2 separate regions of the Homo sapiens genome follow, and region 2 is linked to region 1. Evidence: promoter capture Hi-C in human tissues and cell types (Jung and others, 2019). All regions are on one chromosome and are shown on one strand. The core of a region is centred on a gene start or on the middle of the fragment in contact, and the rest is flanking DNA. Distances in the headings are between cores, read along the strand shown. Region 1 holds the start of FCHSD1 (FCH and double SH3 domains 1). Region 2 has its middle 14 kb from the start of DELE1.

Evidence for each region. The method cuts DNA at HindIII sites, captures the fragments that hold promoters and counts their contacts. A contact is called where the count stands out against the background at its distance.
Region 2: a contact is called between a fragment that was not itself captured here and the fragment with the promoter of FCHSD1 in region 1, in 1 of the 25 tissues and cell types used here (dorsolateral prefrontal cortex).

What each region holds. Positions count from the first base shown.
Region 1 is chr5:141,648,597-141,653,907 of GRCh38, reverse strand. FCHSD1 (FCH and double SH3 domains 1) reads left to right here and starts at 2,490. Exons shown (of 20, transcript NM_033449.3): 1 at 2,490-2,560; 2 at 2,791-2,888; 3 at 3,504-3,549; 4 at 3,954-4,021; 5 at 4,372-4,513; 6 at 4,600-4,736; 7 at 4,888-4,951. The coding sequence starts at 2,540. ARAP3 (ArfGAP with RhoGAP domain, ankyrin repeat and PH domain 3) reads left to right here. Exons shown (of 33, transcript NM_022481.6): 33 at 1-506. RefSeq lists an enhancer at 3,890-4,468. The HindIII fragment of the contact is 10,660 bases long and covers 1-5,311 here.
Region 2 is chr5:141,907,692-141,913,002 of GRCh38, reverse strand. No RefSeq gene overlaps it. Among named protein-coding and RNA genes, the nearest start is that of DELE1, 14 kb to the left of the region's middle. The HindIII fragment of the contact is 4,910 bases long and covers 625-5,311 here.

The sequences.
Region 1 (5,311 bases), core at 1,241-3,740:
AGAAACTCTTATCGTGGCACTGTTGCAGCTTCCTCTGCCCTGGCTGGAAAGACTCCAGAATCCAGTGTGGTGCTGTGGAAGGAGCACTGGACTAAAGGCTTCAGTGGCTGCGTGTCCCAGGACAGGTCATGGCCCCTCTCTGGGCCCAGCCCATTTATCTATACCATGAGGTAACTGAAGTAAGGAGAGCAGTGAATGTCAAACTGTGTTTCTTAGAGCCATAAGCCCCACATATTATCCCTGAACAAGGGCAGCTCCTGCTTTATATATTTGATACGTAGGGGTTCCATGAGAGATTTTGGGTTTTAAAGGAATGGTTTTACTGCATTAAAGAAAAAAAATGCTTTGGAAACCAGAGGCCTGGGTGATGTTAAAGTCTATCCTGTCCCACTTCCTACATTCTGGGACTACCGTGAAGCCTGGAGTAGGGAGAGCGAGTTTGGGAGCTGGGACTCGGGGAGTCAAAAATAGATGAGTAATTGTCAATAAACCTGGGAACCAAAAGACTACCATTCTCATTCATTCATTCAACAAATATGTATTGTGCACCTAATTGGTGCCAGGTCTGGGGATATAGCATGAACAAAACAAACAGGGCCCCTGCTCTTATGAATCCTCCGTTGTGGAGGGGAACAGAAAATAGCAAATAAACACATAAACCAGTACTTGAACAAGTGAGTTTAGTGCTGTGAAGAAACTGAACCAAAGTGATGAGCTTGAAGAGTGATTGTGGAGGCCAGGCGCAGTGGCTCACACCTGTAATCCCAGCACTTTGGGAGGCTGAGGGGGATGGATTACCTGAGGTCAGGAGTTTGAGACCATCCTGGCAAAGATGGTGAAACCCTGTCTCTACTAAAAATACAAAATTAGCTGGTTGTGGTGGCACGTGCTTGTAATCCCAGCTACTCGGGAGGCTGAAGCAGAAGAATCACTTGAACCTGGTAGGTGGAGGTTGCAGTGAGCCGAGATTGCACCATTGCACTCCAGCCTGGCAACAGAGCAAGACTCCATCTCAAAAAAAAAAGAGTGATTGTGGAGATGGTCTTTGGATGGGTGGATGGGGAAGGCATCTGTGAAGAGTTGCAAAGTAAGGGAAAGAAGCTGTTGGAGGCGACAGATGGAACGCTGGAAGGAGGAGATTCTGGAGAAAGAAAGCAGGCATGAAGAACTCTGCATTGGAAGGGACTTGGTCTACTGAGGGAACAGCAAAGAGGCTGGAGCACAGTGAGCAGACAGTGGGAGGAGAGTACAGGCTGAAGTAAGAAAGACCAGCAGGGTCTTCCATGCGTAGCCTTGAAGGCCATGGATTCTATTTGGATTTTATTCTGAAGCAAGTGCATTTTAAGCAAGTAAATTATGAGATCTTATTTCCCTTTAAAAAAGAAAAAAAAGGTTGATCACTCTGAGTGCTGTGTGAACAGTGGGTTGGGGTGAGGGCAGTGTGGAAGCAAGGAGATCAGATATTAGACCAGAAGTCTAATAATGGGGGCTTGGACTAGGATGGTGGTCTTGGAAATTGAGGGAAGTGGATCAAGAGGTTTTTGTTTGTTTATTGTTGTTTGAAATAGAACCTGTAGGACTTACTGATGGATAGAATGTAGGGGTAGGAGAAGGCACATTGACTCTGGGTTTCTGACTTAACTGACTGGAGGAAATGCGGTGCCATTTAAAACGTTACGGGGGGAGGATCAGGTTGAAGGAGGTTTAAAAGCTTTAAAAGTTGAGGTTCCTATTAGATATACTAGCAGAGGTGTCAGTGGGGAGTTGGAATGTGAATCTGGAGTTTTGAGACATGTCAGGGGTACTGGGACAGGTGCCTGAGCCAAAGAAGCTTAGGTGAGGAGGATGAGGAATTGGGGAGAGGCTCCTCAGGAAGCAGTGCTAGGGCTGGAAGATCCTAAAGGTGGCAGGGGCTTCCTGCGCATCTCCCAGCTCTCGCCGACTCACTGGTATCGTTTAGTTTTCAGTGGGGCCAAGTCTTTTTCCCTTTGGGCCTGGTTCCTTCCTGGATCCAGGCATCTTTCTCACCCCGCTCACGCTGGCTTTTCCAGTTAAGCGGGAATTAGGAAAAGGTCTGGGACCAGCCCTCTCTTCGTCAGATGCATCTTTGCTCAGGTGCCCAGTGACTCAGTTTCCCTGGTCACACACTGAATTCCTCTCCATTCCTCATCATTAGCTCGGGGACTGGGGATCTACATATGCAAATGAATAATTATCAATAATTACAGGCTGAATCAGTGGTTACACTACAAATAGAACTTAGGCGTCTTGACTCAGATGCCTGGGGTTCTTCCCACCGCCCAGCGGACGCTGCGTCCGCCCCGCCCGCCCCGCCACCCGGACCCTGCCGGCGTATTCGCAGCAGTAACAGGTTTAGTTTCTCGGTGGCCCCCTCTCGCTTCCGCGCCCTGCGACGTCGCCGGACAAGTCGTGGGCGGGCAGAGGGCGGGGCCTGACCTGGCCTGGGGCGGGGCTCCATAGTGGGCGGGGCTTCCTCCAGTTCCGGAGTCCAGTGGCTGACCGCCTTGCTGGAGCGGAGATGCAGCCGCCGCCCCGAAAAGTGAGCTTGGCCCTGAATGGGGACTCCTGGCGGGCTGGGGGAACGGAGGGAGCTAAGGGGGCATCCGACTTGTGGTAGGAGACGGGAAGTCGGAAGGGGTCAGACCCCAAACCAGAAGTAACAGAGGAAAGAGCTCAGCACCCCCCCGGCCCCGCCCCCTCACCGCTCCCTGCGCGGAGTGTTTTTTAGGTCCTTGCGCTGGGGTCTTCATCCTCTCTTTGCCCCCACAGGTGAAGCCGGCCCAGGAGGTGAAGCTTCGCTTCCTGGAACAGCTGAGCATCCTTCAGACCTGGCAGCAGAGGGAGGCGGATCTGCTGGAGGACATCAGGTAGCTCCCCCAACCCCCTTCATTTACACTCACCTTCGTCGTTGTGCGCCACTTCTCCCCAATATACATGTGCTGGGGTGGAGGAACAGGGGCCAAGAGCTCCCCAGCCGACCCATCCACAGCCCTCACCCTAGGCCTGGCCTCTCCAGATACTGGATAGGAATGCTCCCCCACCTAACCCCTCCCAACCCCCTCCCACCCACATAAACACACAGGAACCCTCCCTCAAAGCCCTTGACTCCACACCACTGCCCCCAACCCCACAATCAACCTTAGGGCAGAATCCCTCTCCCTCTTCCAGACCTGTTGGAAGGCTGGCAGACATCGTACCCAGGCCCCCATCAGTCTTCACCTCTAAGCCTACAGATGAACCTCTGGGGTGGGGAGGATCCTGCTGGGGCCCGGGGCAGTAAGGTGAGGGTTTCCTGTGTTGCAGCTGCCCGAGGTGATCTCAAGGACTCCCATCAGTCCCATTCCCTCTGGGTGTAGTTACACTCTAGGAACCTGGCTCCCCCCAACCGCTCCCTCCTGCCCAGAGTAGAGGACTGAGGATGGGAGAACAGGACCAAACATAACCTTATCCCCCACCTCACCCCCGACCTGCAATCTCCGCAGATCCTACAGCAAGCAGAGGGCAGCCATTGAACGGGAGTATGGGCAGGTATGGGACTTTTCTCTGGACCTTACCTCTTGTTCCAGCCTCTCTTATATCACCAGTAATGTCTGTCCATACCTATCCCTATTGTGGTCAAGAGCAGATGCCTAGAGTCAAGCAGACTGGTGTCAGATCCCTGCTGTGTAATTATAGCCATGTGACCTTGGACAAGTTACTTAACCTTTCTTGACCTCAGTTTCTTTCTCTGTGAAATGGGAATAATAATAATACCTTACCTTCATGTAGGGTTGTTGTAAGGATTAAACAAATTAATGACTATAAGGCATTTAGCAAAGCAAGTGGCACATAATGTACCCAAAGAATGGTATGATTATACTCTGATGTCATATTCTGCCAGTTGGGGTGGGTCTTTGAAAGGGAACTTGGTTCTGTGATGGCTTTTTCACCAGGCACTCCAGAAACTGGCTGGCCCATTCCTGAAGAGGGAAGGGCACCGGAGCGGTGAGATGGACAGCAGGTGGGCCCTATGGAGGGGGAGGGCCACAGAGGCCAAAAAGTGATGGGGAGCTCAGCCCCAGGAACCTGTGGGGATGAAGGCCTAGCAAGTGGGGAAGGCACGTGAGCTGTAGGTAGAGCTGACACAGCAGCAGCAGAGGAGCTGACCCAGCAAGGACACTGTGGGTGGGGTGGAGGGCAGGAGTGAGGCTTGTGGCTGAGCTAATGGGCTGATCGATTGATGGGCTCCCAGACAAGGGAGGATGGGAAAGCACTCTGTCTCCCATGGTGTTGGTCAGGGGGCAGGGGGTGGGGGTGGTCTCATGAAGCTGTGGAGTGCTCTCCTCCTCAACACAGACCTTCTCTGGGGAGGGGCAGGACAGTGTTCGGTGCCTGGCGCTGCCTGCTGGATGCCACCGTGGCTGGGGGCCAAACCCGACTCCAGGCGTCTGACCGATACCGTGACCTAGCAGGGGGTACAGGGCGGAGCGCCAAGGAGCAGGTGCTTAGGAAGGTATGGCTCAGAGGTTGGGGTGAAGGAAGAGCTGGCTTGGGACCAAAGGTGGTCTAGGTAAGGACTTTGTGTATGCATCCCAATAGGGAACAGAGAACCTCCAGAGGGCGCAGGCTGAGGTGCTGCAGTCTGTCCGGGAGCTGAGCCGAAGTCGGAAGCTGTATGGGCAGCGGGAACGTGTGTGGGCCTTGGCACAGGAGAAGGCGGCTGATGTCCAGGCCAGGTGGGGTCATGGAGAGTGAGGAAGCCCAAGGTTGGGGAACAGGGAGGTGGGGCTGTCTAGGGGTGGAGCCAAGTCACCAAAGCTGGGCCTGACTCTGATCTCATATTCTCCCACTTGGGGTGGGCCTGACTCCTTTCTCTCATCTGCACAGGCTAAACCGAAGTGACCATGGGATCTTCCACTCTCGGACCAGTCTCCAGAAACTGAGCACCAAGGTTCGAGGGATGAGGGCATGAGTGGGGGCAGGGAAGAGGGAGGCAGAGTAGTCTAGTGGTTTGGAACATAGGTGCATATGTATGAAAGACTGGGTTGAATCCAGGCTCTCCTACTTCCTGGGTGGGTAACCTTGGTTAATTTACTTGATCTCTGTGAGCCTTATTTTCTTCTATAAAATGGAGAGAATACCCTTCTTTTTCAGTCCTTTAATATGCATTTATTGAGGATCTGTATATAATAGGCACTGTTCTAGACATTATGGATACAGTGGAGAACACTACCAATGGAGTTCCTGCCCTCACAGTCTGGTTAAGAGAGACAGACAGCAAATAAATACTTAGATTAAGATGAAAATAAAA
Region 2 (5,311 bases), core at 1,830-4,329, 260 kb before region 1:
GCTTAGTATCTTATGGGAGGTAAGCCCTCAAAATATGTTTATTCAAGAAAATTTGAGGCTGGGCGTGGTGGCTCACACCCGTAATCCCAGCGCTTTGGGAGGTTGAGGTGGGCGGATCACTTGAGCTCAGGAGTTTGAGGCCAGCCTGGCCAACATGGTAAAACCCCACCTCTACTAAAAATAAAAAAAAATTAGCCCAGTGTGGTGGTGCACACCTGTAATCCCAGCTACTTGGGAGGCTGAGGCAGGAGAATTGCTTGAACCTGGGAGATGGAGGTTCCAGTGCACCAACATTGTGCCACTGCATTGCAGCCTGGGTGACAGAGTGAGACACCATCTCAAAAAAAAAAAAAAAAAAAGAGAGAGAGAGAGGAAAAAAAAAATTTGATGGTGTAGAAGGGCATTTCTGCTCACGTTGCCCAAAACCACCTAGAAAGAAATTATTGCCTTCTTGAACTAAAGCCTACTCATTGGTTCCATGATTTTATCATTGAGGTTGCCGTGAGATAGAAAAGAAGGGGAAATTATTAATCAAAGTAAGCGGGAAAGAAATAACTCCAGAAATAATGGGAAGTGGGTGAGTAATACATTGTAGCAAAATGGCTAATTATCCACCAACATCCATTCTCTCCTTCTTCCATGGTATTAGAATTCAGCTGGGATGTGGCTGTCCAGTCAGGGTCTACATTTTCTAGCCTTTCACGAAGATAAGAGTAAGTTTAAAAAAAAAACAACTCGAAAGAATATGTACAGTATGATCCCATTCACTTATATTTCAAAAATAGGCAAGACTAAATTATATTATTTAGAAATGCATATATGGGTAATAAAACTATAAAGAAAGAAAGGGAATGTTCTTACAGATACATATGTAATAGATATACATTAATATATTATAGATTCATATACATGTTTTAGACATCTTCTGTATATATGTTATATTTCACAATTACCTTTTTAAGATGTTACTTACCTGGCTAGGCGTGGTGGCTCACACCTGTAATCCCAGCAGTTTGGGTGGCCAAGGAGGGTGGATCATCTGAGGTCAGGAGTTCGAGACCAGCCTGGCCAATATGGCGAAACCCCGTCTCAACTAAAAACACAAAAATTTGCCGTGGGTGGTGGCACACGTCTATAATCCCAGCTACCTGGGAGGCTGCGGCAGGAGAATAGCTTGAACCCGGGAGGCGGAGGTTGCAGTGAGCCAAGATCCACCGTTGCACTCCCTGCTGGGCGACAAAAGTGAAACTCTGTCTCAAAAAAAAAGAAAAGAAAAAAGAAAATGTTACTTACCTTATAGGGTTGTGTGGGAACTGAATGAGGTGATGCATTTTTGAGGCTCTAAGCTTAACTGCCTGGTGCATTGTAGGTACTCAATGGAAACAACTTTTTTCATTTATTATTTTTTATTTTTTGAATTATTTAATTATTTTACAGATGGAGGTCTCAGTTAGTTGCCCAGGCTGGAGTGCAGTGGCATGATGATAGCTTACTGCAGACTCGAACTCCAGGGCGCAAGAGATTCTCCCTCCTCAGCCTTTGCAGTAGCTGGGACTATAGGCACATGCCTCTGCCCCTGGCTGGCAGTAACTGTTCATGTTGAGGGAAGGATTTGAGGCCTTGAAGAAGGCCACATAATTAGCCAATGATAAGATTTTAAAAAGGTCCTACTTTTTTCTATGAAAGACATTGACTTCAAATATATATATACATATATATATACACACATATATATACATATATACACATACACACACACACACACACACACACACACACACACACACACACATATATATGGTTTTTTTGAGGAGTCTTGCTCTTTCGCCCAGGCTGGAGTGCAGTGGTGTGATCTCGGCTCACTGCAACCTCTGCCTCCCGGGTTCAAACGATTATCCTCCCTCAGCTTCCTGAGCAGCTGGGATTACAGGCATGTGCCACCACACCCAGCTAATTTTTTTTTTTCACTTTTAGTGGAGACGGATTTCACCATGTTGGCCAGGCTGGTCTCGAACTCCTGACCTCAGATGATCCACTCGCCTCAGCCTTCCAAAGTGCTGGGATTTTAGGCGTGAGCCACTGTGCCTGGCTGACTTCCTATATTTGTGTATATAAGTGTGTGTGTATAGGGGTGGTGATTATTGATTGATTTAGGGTTAATTGATGGTCACAAACTTAGTGAAGACTTGAAGAATTTCACCCTTCCCTTCAGAGAAGACACAGAGGAGAAAAGGAAAATTGCTTGACTAGAGGAAGCCTGCCCCTGGATGAGAAGAGGTAAGAGCAGTGAGGATACAATTATATTTGTGCTGGCTCCATATGAGAGGCCCAGGCAGGAGGCTCCATCCCCTGGATGTCCCACCTACATCCTCTTGGGTGCATCATGCTTCCTGCAGTGTTGATGAGGCCTCAGAAGTCAGCACAGGCGACAGTGGGATGGCCCAGACCCAGCTCAGGGATGCTGAGGGAAGCTATTCTGCTGACTGTGTGCCCTAAGGCACCGTGAAAGCAGCCAAGAGTGAGAGCAGTCACCAAGCCAAAAGGCACTGGGATCAGCCAGGGAGACCAGGAAAACCTGGCCAGAGTCTTCCAGCCAGGCCAGGCCAACAGAGCTGTGCACCTCTGGATGCCATGCCCCAGGGTCTCAAGCTTGCTCAGTCTTGGCCATGAGCTCCTAGAGGTGCCTCCCCAAGGGGAGCCCAGTCAGGCCTCCTTTCCCTACCATAGTTTCCTGGTTTCCACACTGTGGGCTGATACATTTTGTTGTGCAATGGAAGCCATGGGGATAAGGGGGGTTAAACGCTGGTCCCACTACTTACACTGTGGATTCTTGGGCTAGAGGCTCCTTAAGATTTTTCCCTTCTACTCTGATCCCTTCTAGTTAATCCAGTTCGGTCATTCAGTTCACTGTATATCAGGCCGGGCGTGGTGGCTCATGCCTGTAATCCCAGCACTTTGGGAGGCCGAGGCTGGTGCATCACCTAAGGTCAGGAGTTCAAGACCAGCCTGGCCAACATGGTGAAATCCCACCTCTACCAAAAAATATAAGAAATTAGCCAGGCGTGGTGAAGCGCGCCTGTAATCCCAGCTGCTCTGGAGGCTGAGTTAGGAGAATCGCTTAAACCTGGAGGTGAGGTTGTAGTGAGCCGAGATCACACCACTGCACTCCAGCCTGGGTGACAGAGCGAGATTCTGTCTCAAAAAAAAAAAAAAAAAAATTCACCCTGTATCTACTGGGCATGTGTAATGTCAAGGTGCTTTTTCTTTTCTTTTCTTTATTTTATTTTTTTTTTTGAGACAGAGTCTCGCTCTCATCCAGGCTGGAGTGCAGTGGCACAATCCCAGCTCACTGCAGCCTCAACCTCCCAGACTCAATCTATCCTCCTGCATCAGCCTCCCAGGTAGCGGAGACTACAGGCACATGCGCCACCACACCCAGCTAATTTTTTATTTTTTTGTAGAGATGGGTTTTTGACATGTTGCCCAGACCTCAGCCTCCCAAAGTGCTGAGATTACAGGCATGAGCCACCATGCCCAGCCTCAAGGCGCTTTTTCCAAATGCTAGCATCATGATGATGAAGAAGGAAGATATGGGCCCTGCCCTCATGGAGTTTACAGTCTATGGGAAAAGAGGTGCAGGATAAGCCATACAATTATGATGTATGTTACAAAAAGTAAAGGAGAATGGAAGAGAATCAATTCGAAGCTTAACATTGTTTAGCAATGTTTCTCAAAATATGGTCCCTGGACCACTTGCATCAGGGGTATCTGAGGTACTTGTTGAAAATTCAGGTCCTGGGCATCATGCCAGATATGCTGAATCCAAAGCTCTGAATGTGGAGCCTAAGGAACTTGCTTTTTAAAAAAATGTAGGTAAAATCTACGTAACAAAAAATTAGCCATTGAAAGTATACACTTCAGTGGCATTTAGTACATTCACAATGTTGTACAATCATCATCTCTATCTAGTTCCAAAACATTTGATCATCTCCCAAAGAAACTCCTGACTCATTAAGCAGTCACTCCCATTCTCCCTTCACCCCATCCCCTGGTAACCACTAGCCTTCTTTCTATCTGTATGAATTGACCTTTTCTAGATATTTCATAGAAATGAAATCATACACTACATGATCTTTTGCGTCTAGCTTCCTTCACTTAACAATGTTTTCAAGGTTCATCCATGTTGTAGCATACATCAGTACTTCATTTATTTTTATTGCTAAATAATATTCTATTGTGTGGGTATACCACATTTTGTTTATCCATTCATCCATTGATGGATATTTGGGTTGTTTCCATCTTTTGGCTATTGTGAATATTGCTACTGTGAATATTTATATACAAGTATTTGAGTACCTACTTTCAAGTCTCTTGGGTATACCCCTACGAATGAAACTGCTGGGTCATACGGCAATTCTATGTTTAACATTTTAAGGAACCACCAACTGTTTTCCACAGTGGCTGTACCATTTTATGTTCCCATCAGGAAGGCCCAAGGGTTTCAGTGTCCCCACATTCTTGCCAATACTTGTTCTTTTCCTTAATTATAGCCATCACAGTGGGTATAAAGTGGTATCTCATTGTAGTTTTGATTTGCATTTCCGTAATGACTAATGATGTTGAGCATCTTTTCATGTACTTTTTGGCCATTTATATGTCTTCTTTAGAGAAATGTCTATTCAAGTCCTTTGCTCATTTAAAAAATTGAGTTATCTAGGCCAGGCAGGGTGCTCACACCTGCAATCCCAGCACTTTGGGAGGCCAAAGAGTGTGGATCACTTGAGCCCAAGAGTTTGAGACCAGCTGGGGCAACATGGCAAAACCCCATCTCTACGAAAAAATACAAAAAATTAGCCTGGCATGGTGGCACCTGTAGTCCCAGCTACTCAGGAGGCTCAGGTGGGAGGATCACTTGAGCCCCAGGAAGGTTGAGGCTGCAATGAACTGTGATCTTTCCACTGTACTCTAGCCTGGGTGACAGAGTGAGACCTTGTCTCAGAAAAAAAGGATTGTCTTTTTGTTATCAAATTATGAGTCCTTTATATATTCTGGATACTAGAAGTTTATTGGATATGTGATTTGCAAATTGACAAATGAAATGAAAAGTGTCTTTTCACTTTCTTGAAGATGTTCTCTGATGCATGAAAGTTTTTAATTTTGCTGAAGTCCAGTGTATCCATACTTACTTTTTGTTGCATGTGGTTTTGATATCATGTTTAAGAAACCATTGCCAGGCCGAGCGTGGTGTCTCATGCCTGTAATCCCAGCACTTTGGGAGGCTGAGGCGGGCAGATCACCTAAGGTCAGGAGT